Linked DNA regions of Homo sapiens: region 1 is linked to region 2. Evidence: promoter capture Hi-C in 16 types of primary human blood cells and fetal thymus (Javierre and others, 2016). All regions are on one chromosome and are shown on one strand. The core of a region is centred on a gene start or on the middle of the fragment in contact, and the rest is flanking DNA. Distances in the headings are between cores, read along the strand shown.

Region 1 (4,947 bases), core at 1,881-4,380, 1.1 Mb after region 2:
ATTGGTACTAACGATACGTGAAGTTGTTGGGTCAATGATATTTCTGTGAATATTGAATATGTACAGTTCAAGAGATGTTGTTTCCAGTGGCTGCGAACACACGGAAAGAACCTTAGAATGCCTTTGCATCAAAACTTTGAAAAATACTGTAAAGGTAGGAGGGCTTCACTTTGCCATTGGAAACTATTTTTTCGTAAGCTTTTGGAATTACCGGTGAAACTGAATATGGCCTGTAGGTATTCTCCTTGGAGTATATATGTGTGTATATAAAAGACTGTCTTTGGTTTGAAAAGACAAAAGTTTTGTCTTTTGATAAGGGGTTTTAAAAAGTGCTGTTTTCCAGCTCTACTGCATTTCTGTACTATATACGAATCTTAAAGTTTATGATAATAATGTTCTGTAAAGAATATGTTTTACATACAGTTATTTTCAAGTTATGTCACCAATTATGTTCATGTAATCTGAAGCTCCCTTACAAGCCTTATTTTAGAAGGAAACTTGAGAGAGGTTTGCTCTTTTACCCAAGGTTTATTCAGTGTGTTAAAAGTTAGGGAGGAAAGATGGCCCAGAAGATTAGGAATCATGATTCTAAATTTTTATTGCTGCCAATTTTCAATAGCATTGGTAGGATAATGTTTCTAAAGTTTGTATTTGTGTAATGGACAGAATACCTTTTTATCTCCTTGAGGGAGGTCATCAGGTGTGACAGAGAATTCTTCCTCACAAAGATTTTACAGTCTGGGGAGACAGGTGAAAATCTATATAATGTATAAATGTAAAAAATAGTTCCAGTGATTGCTATAATGGGTTGATGATTAGTGTAGAATGATATTTATACAACTTCTAGAGGAGATAAGCTTTAGGTTAATATTTTCAGCATAACATGTTTCTAAGCAAGTATATAACACTTAATATTATCACTGTCGCTACATGTTAAGGTACATGTTAAGCTCGAATATACTTTTGCTTTTCTTCCTTTTGAGGTGTTAAGTATCACATGTGCATTCCTTTAGCTATAAACATTTATGCTGCCAGAGGAGTTTGAGTAAAGGATGAAATAAATAAGCTTATTTATTAAAACTCACTGTCATTTTACAAAGTATGTTTGTAGTAAAGACTCGACGTACTTTAAAATTTCATGGACAATATGATGTATGAGAACGAGCCTTGACCCTGAAGAGTTGAGGATCTATATCTAGCTGTCACTAAACTAGCTAGTGACTTAACATCTTTAGGGCTTCATTTTTCTCTAAGAAGACAGGGTTGACTAGATGATTGCTAATGACTTTTAAAGCTCTAAAATAAGTGGCTTGGAAATACTTAATGGAAAGGTAGGGCTTCTCCTTGGGTTTTTTTTTTTTTTTCTAATATTACACCATGTGAATGAATATGTCTATAAGTTCGTTATGTAATTGGTAGGTTAACTTCTTTTATCCAGTCTTTGAAAATAAAAATGTGTGCCAAATTGGAACTTGAGGCTCTTTATATGTTTAAGTCTGTAATATAGTCTAATTAATAATTTAGGCTCATTTCTAGTGTATATAGCTTAATATAGGAAAAACAAATGTCTAGCATTGTTACTTTCCTAATATTTATGTTAAAGTATTGTGTATGAACAGTCTGGATTTTCTGGAAGATTTCTGCCTTATTCTCAAGTATACCTTTCTTGACTTTTTCCTTTATTTGTCTTTTCTTATTTTATTTTATTTTTACATTTGCGAAATAAGGTAATCAGAAGTTTTGGTCAACAATGCAGTTATTAAATGAAGGTGAAATTTTTCTGGAAATTTAGCCTAAATATTTTCACTGACAGAAAACAAATCTATTTTATTAAAGTTCATTATGAAATTGAAAATCTCATTTCTGATTTACTATAAATTGGAATATGTAGTCTCAATCTTGAAAAGATCAAATTGAAAAAAAATTAGCAGTATGAAAAGAAGTTAAAAGCAGTATGTGAATAGATACATTAAAATGAAACTCAAGGAATGACACTAGTTTTCTTTTTAAAAAGCTCATTTGAAAATGAATTTAAGAAATTACCCTTCACAATTCATTGCAGCATTGGTACTAAAATTCATGTAAAAACTGAGTTACATGGTCACATCAGTCAGTGTGTAAATAGCCAATCAGAATCATTCAACATAAAACTATTTTAGAAACAAATTTGGTTGGTGGAGAAGGGCAGGCAGCAGAATGTTCTTGATAACTATTTAAAATAATTCCTCATGTTTGATAATTGTTTAAAATGATTCCTTGTGTCATCTATAGCAAAATGTTCAAAAGGATGCAAAGAAATGCTTAAGAAGAGCTTTTTAAAAACCATTTATCTGTGAGTAGACAAATACTGTTTTACTTACAGAATCATAATTTTTATTTTTTTTACATTTATTTTATTTTTTGAGATGGAGTCTCCCTCTGTCGCCCAGCCTGGAGTGCAGTGGCACAATCTTGGCTCACTTCTGCCTCCCAGGTTCAAGTGATTCTCCCACTTCAGCCTCCCAAGTAGCTGGGATTACAGGCGTGAGCCACCACTCCTGGCTAATTTTTGTATTTTTAGTAGAAATGGGGTTTTACCATGTTGGCCAGGCTGGTCTTGAAATCCTGACCTCAGGTGATCCACCTGCCTTGGCCTCCCAAAGTGCTGAGATTATAGGTGTGAGCCACAGCTCCTAGGCTAGAATCATAATTTGTCATCTACACCCTGATGTTTATGTTTAGAAGCTAAAACTTATATAAGCATGGGGATAGAATTTGGTTGTTATTAATTACAGTTGATGAATTACAGCTGCGCTTCTCAAAAACCAAACTCTCTGACCCGGATTCTGGGAGTCCCAAGAGCCTTTCACAGGATCTGTAAAGACAAAACTGTTTTGAAAATAATACTGGGACATTATTTGCCTTGTCACTTTCAAAAGTGTACAGAGGAGTTAGGAGCTATGTATAGATGGGTTATTCCAATAGATTGAAAGAGGAAGGAGAATTCAGCTGCCTTCTATTGAATCAAGTATAATAAGATTTGCAAAAATGTAAAAAACAAAGCTACTTACTTTTTGTTTTTTATTTTAAGTTATTTTTGGCCAGGCATGGTGATTTATGCCTGTAATCCCAGCACTTTGGGAGGCCAAGGCAGGAGGATCTCTTGAGTCTGGGAGTTTGAGACCAGCCTGGACAACATAGTGAGACCCTCGTCTCTAAAAAAAAAAATCAAAAAATTAGCTGGGTGTGCTGATGCGTGCCTGTGGTCTCATCTACTTGAGACGCTGAGGTAGGAGGATCACACCCCAGGAGATCTAAGCTACAGTGAACCATGATCATGCCACTGCATTCCAACCTGAGCAACAAAGCGAGACCTTGTCTCAAAAAACAGTTATTTTTCATAAAAAATGTTATTTATGGTTGCAGTAATGGGTGTATTATTTTAAATGAATTAATAATTTTGAAGTTTTCTTTGTAATTTCAAATATGATAAATACAGATAAAATCTCGAGGTCTTCAGTATTTTGAGTGTAAAAGTGTCCTCAGATAAAAAAGGTCGGAGGATAGCTGAATTACAGTGTTGTTTAGGTCTGTACTGTATGGTAGCCACTAGCCGCATGTATCTGAGTACTTAAAATGTAGCTAAGAAACTCAATTTTTAATTTTAATTAATTTAAACTTAATTTCTGGCTGATCTCATCTTGCAGAGGGCAGTTCGCTCTCCCCCTCCGAGAGTGTAAAAAAAAAAAAAAAAGAATTGCCATTCTTTTTCCTTTTTATACTTTATAATGCAAGTATATTGATTAAAAGGTCAAGGGGGAAAAGGTGAAGATGGAGTATTCCAGACCTTTAATTACCTTTTCCCCCTTTTTATTGCCTTCATTTGTATTCTTCATTTACCTATTACTGGTATAGCTTTGGGGCATTAGAGGATAAGTAGTGGTAAATCGGGTGCTGCAGTTGACTGAAGACCTTGTACTATTAGTTTATAGTGTTGCTTATAGGAGAATACCACTATCACCTAATGAAGTGTTTTCTAATTTTTTTTCACTGCTCTCAAACTAAATTGCTACTAAATTTTATTTTTGACTTGAGAACATTTTTATGAACTAGATCCATTGCCAGCATTCTTTTATGCAAAGCTGAGAGGTATGCCTCTTGTCAGACTTAATTACCAAGTTTGGTATTTTGTAACAGCTGTTGAGTGAGTCTGGAATAGTCTTCAGTACCATACAAACACCGGTTGATTAGAAAGATAGAAATGGAACAAGAAGATATTTACCAATATTAAATGAAGGTACAAGCAAATATTATTTTTGGTACTGTAATAAAAAGTAAAACAGTTCTTGAAATTTATTTCAAGGGGGATTGACCAGCAATAGCCACTACCAGTGGTAACTAGAAAATGATACCTGTCAGACTACTTTTAGCTTCATTGTTTCTATTTTTAAAATGAGTTATTTATTTTTCCTTCTATAAATTTCATAGATGTAGAAAGATACCAGTAAGTCAAGTTTTAAGTAAGATAAGGAATTCTACTTTTCAGCTCTTGCTTGTAGCTTGCTTACTTTGATTGCACAACACTGTTAAATTCATGCTTATTCTTAAATGTGCAAAATTATAGTTTAAATTTTATTTGAATTATTGATCTGAACAAAATAGTATTTTTTTTTTAATTACAGACACAAGTAGGAGAAATATTTCTTAAATTTCTGTTAAAAGTTACTTGACTTATGTAAACAAAAATAAAAAGATAGTGCTCACTTTTACAAAATGTGTTAAGTTTTGGAAACTGGCATTAGTACATTATTGTAAATTGATCTGAGAACAGCCTCTTAGATTTTTGTATTTTGCATTATTTTAGTTAGTAAATAAAAATGATGAGATAAAATTAGTAAGCAGTAAAAAAGTAATCAGTGTTCCTCTTAACATGCTTGTAACTTACAAAGTAAGTTTATTTTACATTTT
Region 2 (4,783 bases), core at 1,131-3,630:
TTGTCATTTTTTCCCCAGAATGAGAAACTCTCAATGAATAATTAAATTCTGAGTCACAGGAAAAAGCTAAAATGAGAACCCAAGTCTCAAAAACTAAAGACCCAGTGCTTAAGACCCTCAAATTTGTTGCCTCTGTAAATCAAACTGCAGTCTTTTGTGGGTGATGGAGGCAAGTGAAGGAGGAGGGATAACAATTAAACTACAGTGTGGCCAGGCGCAGTGGCTCACACCTGTAATCCCAGCACTTTGGGAGGCCAAGGCAGGTGGATCATCTGAGGTCAGTAGTTTCAGACCAGCCTGGCCAACATGGTGAAACCCCGTCTCTACTAAAAATACAAAAATTAGCCAGGTGTGGTGGCGTGCACCTGTAATCCCAGCTACCCAGGAGGCTCAGCCAGGAGAATCACTGGAACCCGGGAGGCAGAGGTTGCAGTGAGCCAAGATGGCGCCACTGCACTCCAGCCTAGGCAACAGAGCAAGACTCTGTCTCAAAAAAAAAAAAAAAAAAAAGAATTAAACTACGGTGAAGAGAGAGCAAAGCGAATGCAGAGTCATAGCTTCCCCTCTGTGGCGAAGCCATGTGTTTCCTGAGTTAATAGAGATATTATTTAGTGAATATGTGAAAAAGATAAAGGCCACTTTGCTACCTCTTTTTCTAATTTCTTAAAATTCTCTACATATTTTCAGAATCTGAACGGGCTCTTTTGCTACAGACGTAGTCCAGTTAAATTTTCTGACTGAGACTTGAAGAAGGGCAGTTTGATACAGAAATTTGTATATTAACTAAATAGCCTTCAGAAAAAGTGTGGCAACTTCAATGAAATATACACTCTCTTAAGTTGGTTTTACTGCTTAGAAGTAGCCTCACACCGTATTAAATATTTTGCTGCCCATTTTGCCATATATCCAGTGAATATTAAAAATATCGTTCACTATATAGAACTGATTAATTGAAGAAAAATATAGCTTCTTATCGCTGACATTATGAGGTTAGAAATAGCATCCTGTGCTAATCTGCAATGCCAAGAAATGAAGATGGTTTAAATCAGATCTCATGACTAATGCATAAGATCCAAAGTTCTTTTATTCCTGGCTATTTTAGAAAACTGGGGTGTATTTTTACCCTAAAAACTAATTCTTAAGATTTATTGAAATAATACAAAATGACTTATAATTAACATCTCACAATCAAGATTTATAGTTTACTGATTATTAGAGAAATAATAATTTCTCCATCTTAATTTTTAAAAATATGTATATGCAATGGTTTAAGTCCATATTCAAGAATATTTGATCCTTAGTTGTTATTTTTGTTTTTAGATAATATCGGGAAAGATAATGTGCTTTAATAAAATGGAAAGTTTAGATTGATTTCTGCAGTTGCTAGTCCATTTTAATTGTACTTATTGTGAATTCATTGAAATGGAAAGAAATATATCCAGCAATAAAGTAGGCCTGTTATTTTTGCTTGTTTTTGTTTTGGTCATGACAAACTGTGAAATGCTGTGTTTTTTCTATAGTTCTAGTCTATGAAATCTGCAATCTTTCCACTTGATTTACGAAGGACCTTAATTACTGCTGTCATTAGCACCTAGTGTTCAAAACAGTCTGTTTAAATGTACTGTTAGTCTCACCTCCAAGTCCCTGCTTGCTTTATTTTTTTCCAAGGGTAAGTAAAACAATAATTGACTTAGTAACAACAATCATTATGTACAGTGAGTTAAATATTACACATTTTTGATGCCTATTTCTATTTATTTAGAATTTGGTATTTGTGTGTTCAGTCTGGCCTAGACTTGGAACAAGTGTCCGTAAGTAGCGCTGTTACTAGCGCAGACTTATTACCTGGGTTTTAAAAACAAGTCACTCATTTGCCTTTTTCTTTCCACATGGATAGGGATGACAGACAACTGCTGTAAAGCTTCAATGTTTCTGCCTGGTCATGCACAGTTCTGCAATATAATGCATAAATGTATAACAACAACTTGGGATCGCTTGATACTTTCCTTGGAATAAGGAAACCCTACCAGGCGCGTCCCCGCGCACGCGCGCGCGCATACACAGACACACACACTCACACACGCTCTCACGCACACACACAGGTCAAAAGTTGATTTATTTCTGAGATCCCCCCAGAATCTTTCTTCTCTCCGTCGCCGACGGCTCTGGGCTTCTCGGCGGGGCGGTAGTGTGGTTGGGGGCGTAGGAGGGGCGCCGGGCGCCGAGGCGACGGAGACGGGAGCCGGGTGCTGGTGCGTGCCGCGCCCGCTCCTGCCGGGTGAGAGTCCGGGCCGGGTTTTGCGCCGTGTCCGCGGGCCTGTCTCACGGCCTCCAGCCGCCGCCGCTGCCGTGTTTACTGAGCTCGCGCGTCCTGATATCACTCCGCTGGCATGGAGGAGGAGGAGGAGGTGGAGGAGCGAGAGGAGGAGGAGGAGGCGGCGGCGGCGGCGGCGGCGAGCAGTTGATCATTGTGATGGTGGCAGGAGCAGCGGCGGCAGCGGCAGCCCAGCCGAGCGTTAGGTGCTGCTCTCTGCGCGGCGTTTTGCAAAGGACTTCACCGATCTACTTTTGCAGTCGCCTCGGACTGTCCATGTGTTTACTTCCCCCAGCCCGAGGATTCGATATCTAGGTTCCTGTGAAATGCAACTGAGCAGCCAAAGTACTTTGAGAACACGGGGCGGCATAAACACCAAAACTTTTTTGTGGAAGGAAAATGCAATAAGCAAGCTTGCCGTTTTCCGATGCGGTGTGGAGTGAGTGTGTGTCGCGCGTGTCCGCACTGGAGGCATATGCTTGTGTGTGTACATGGGGTGTGTTTTTCGGTATGTAGGGAGAAAATGCTTGCCAACCACCGGAAATCTCCTGGAATTTATTAGAAAATAATGGATTATAAAAAGAAGGCAAGCAAGGAGCGGATCTCCCCTTGAGTTGCAACCCGATTTGCTGCTGGCTCAGTTTGTTGTGATTCTTTTTGTTGATAGGTGTCTGATGGTATTCCGATAACGTTCCCCCCTTTTCTTCCCCTTGAGCTTTTACAGTTTAAAAAAAGGAAACAAAAACCACCCCAAAATCTCCCCCCCCGTTTTTTTCGCCCCGTCGGGATCGCCGTTTCCATCCATGTGCTTGCGTCTCCCCCGCGTTCCACTTAAACTATTTTAATCCTTGGACCCAAGGAGGAGGCTGATAGGGGGGTGGATAAAAAAAGTTCTTCCAAAATAGTGTGCCCGGGGAGCAGGATGGGGGATTTCGCAGCCCCCGCTGCTGCCGCGAATGGCAGTAGTATTTGCATCAACAGTAGCCTGAACAGCAGCCTCGGCGGGGCCGGGATCGGTGTGAATAATACTCCCAATAGTACTCCCGCTGCTCCGAGTAGCAATCACCCGGCAGCCGGTGGATGCGGCGGCTCCGGGGGCCCCGGCGGCGGTTCGGCGGCCGTTCCCAAGCACAGCACCGTGGTGGAGCGGCTCCGCCAGCGCATCGAGGGCTGCCGTCGGCACCACGTCAACTGCGAGAACAGGTACCAGCAGGCTCAGGTGGAGCAGCTGGAGCTGGAGCGCCGGGACACCGTGAGCCTCTACCAGCGGACCCTGGAGCAGAGGGCCAAGAAATCGGGCGCCGGCACCGGCAAACAGCAGCACCCGAGCAAACCCCAGCAAGATGCGGAGGCTGCCTCGGCGGAGCAGAGGAACCACACGCTGATCATGGTGAGGGCGCACGGGCAGCGGGCTTGCGGCGCGCGTTGGGGGTGGTGGTGGTGGTGGGGGGCGCGTGGAGCTTCTTACATGGGGGTACAAGGGTCTGATTTGCACGGTGGGTGAGGTGGGCTGAAGCCTAAGGGTTAACGTCAACTTTTCTTAGGGAAAAAGCTGCCGTCGTCGCTACCTGTTAATCTGTCAGGGTTGTCAGATTTGGGGAGGAGGGGGCGAGAGGGGAGAAGCCAGTCACGACTGCGAGGGGCGGAGGGAGCCTAGAGGAGCGTCGGAGTGAGGTGCTGGAAAAGTTTCCCCCCTTCCCTTTCTTAAGATACCGATTTGAAAGAGTGAACCCCTGAGTTGAAACCTTGCTCCTCCTCTTCGCCGCTCCCCACCCCACCTCTAGCCGCGCCGCCTCGCCTCCCCAGACCCGTCCCCCTACGCCCACCCCTCTCAGCACATCCGCCGGGTGCGTGGAAATATTGATGCTGTCGCAGGTTCTGGGCGGGCACCAGGCCCTCAACCCCTAGGGGGGAAGCGGGGAAGGAGAGCCTCTCGCCTCCTCTCCCCAGCTCACCCCCTTTGGGCTGAGAAAGTCTGAGAGTTTTGTGAATGAACTTTGAAGTGGGTGAGAAACGAGCGAGGGTGGCTGCGCGCGGGGGTGCTCGCGGGAGCGCGCGCGGATGCGGGGCGCGGGTGCGCTCCGCTCTTTGCTCGCGACTCGGGGCTAGCCCGGCAGGTGGAGCGGCTGGGAGGGTTAAGAGGGGAGCGGCCTGGAGGGGGCGGGAGGGGAAAGCAATACCCAGGGTTTGCGCCAAGAGGCCCCACCACACAACTTCGCTTGGGATTCTTTCCTTTTTTCCTTTTAAACTTGCGTGCACGGAGTCTTTCTCCGCTTGGCGCCCCCTGCCCCGCTGCCCGCCAACTTTGGGGGCCTGCTTAATAAGCCCAGAGCAATGGAAGGTAGCAGGGAGGTAAAAGAGGCTTAAATGGCTGGGTGGGCGGGTTCGAGGTAGGATGAGCAGCCAATGGCTTAACTTCTCCAGGAGGAAGGGGCAGTTCCCACCCCCCAAGCCGGAGGCTAGAATCCT

What was found. The method cuts DNA at HindIII sites, captures the fragments that hold promoters and counts their contacts. A CHiCAGO score of 5 or more calls a contact.
Region 1: a fragment that was not itself captured here is called in contact with the fragment with the promoter of MAML3 in region 2 in 1 of 17 cell types (fetal thymus); the score reaches 8.2 in fetal thymus.

Annotation. Positions count from the first base shown.
Region 1 is chr4:139,077,361-139,082,307 of GRCh38, reverse strand. All of the region lies in intron 4 of ELF2 (E74 like ETS transcription factor 2), which reads left to right. Among named protein-coding and RNA genes, the nearest start is that of NOCT, 64 kb to the right of the region's middle. The HindIII fragment of the contact is 4,123 bases long and covers 1,069-4,947 here.
Region 2 is chr4:140,151,781-140,156,563 of GRCh38, reverse strand. MAML3 (mastermind like transcriptional coactivator 3) reads left to right here and starts at 2,380. Exons shown (of 5, transcript NM_018717.5): 1 at 2,380-3,704. The coding sequence starts at 3,237. The HindIII fragment of the contact is 806 bases long and covers 1,924-2,729 here.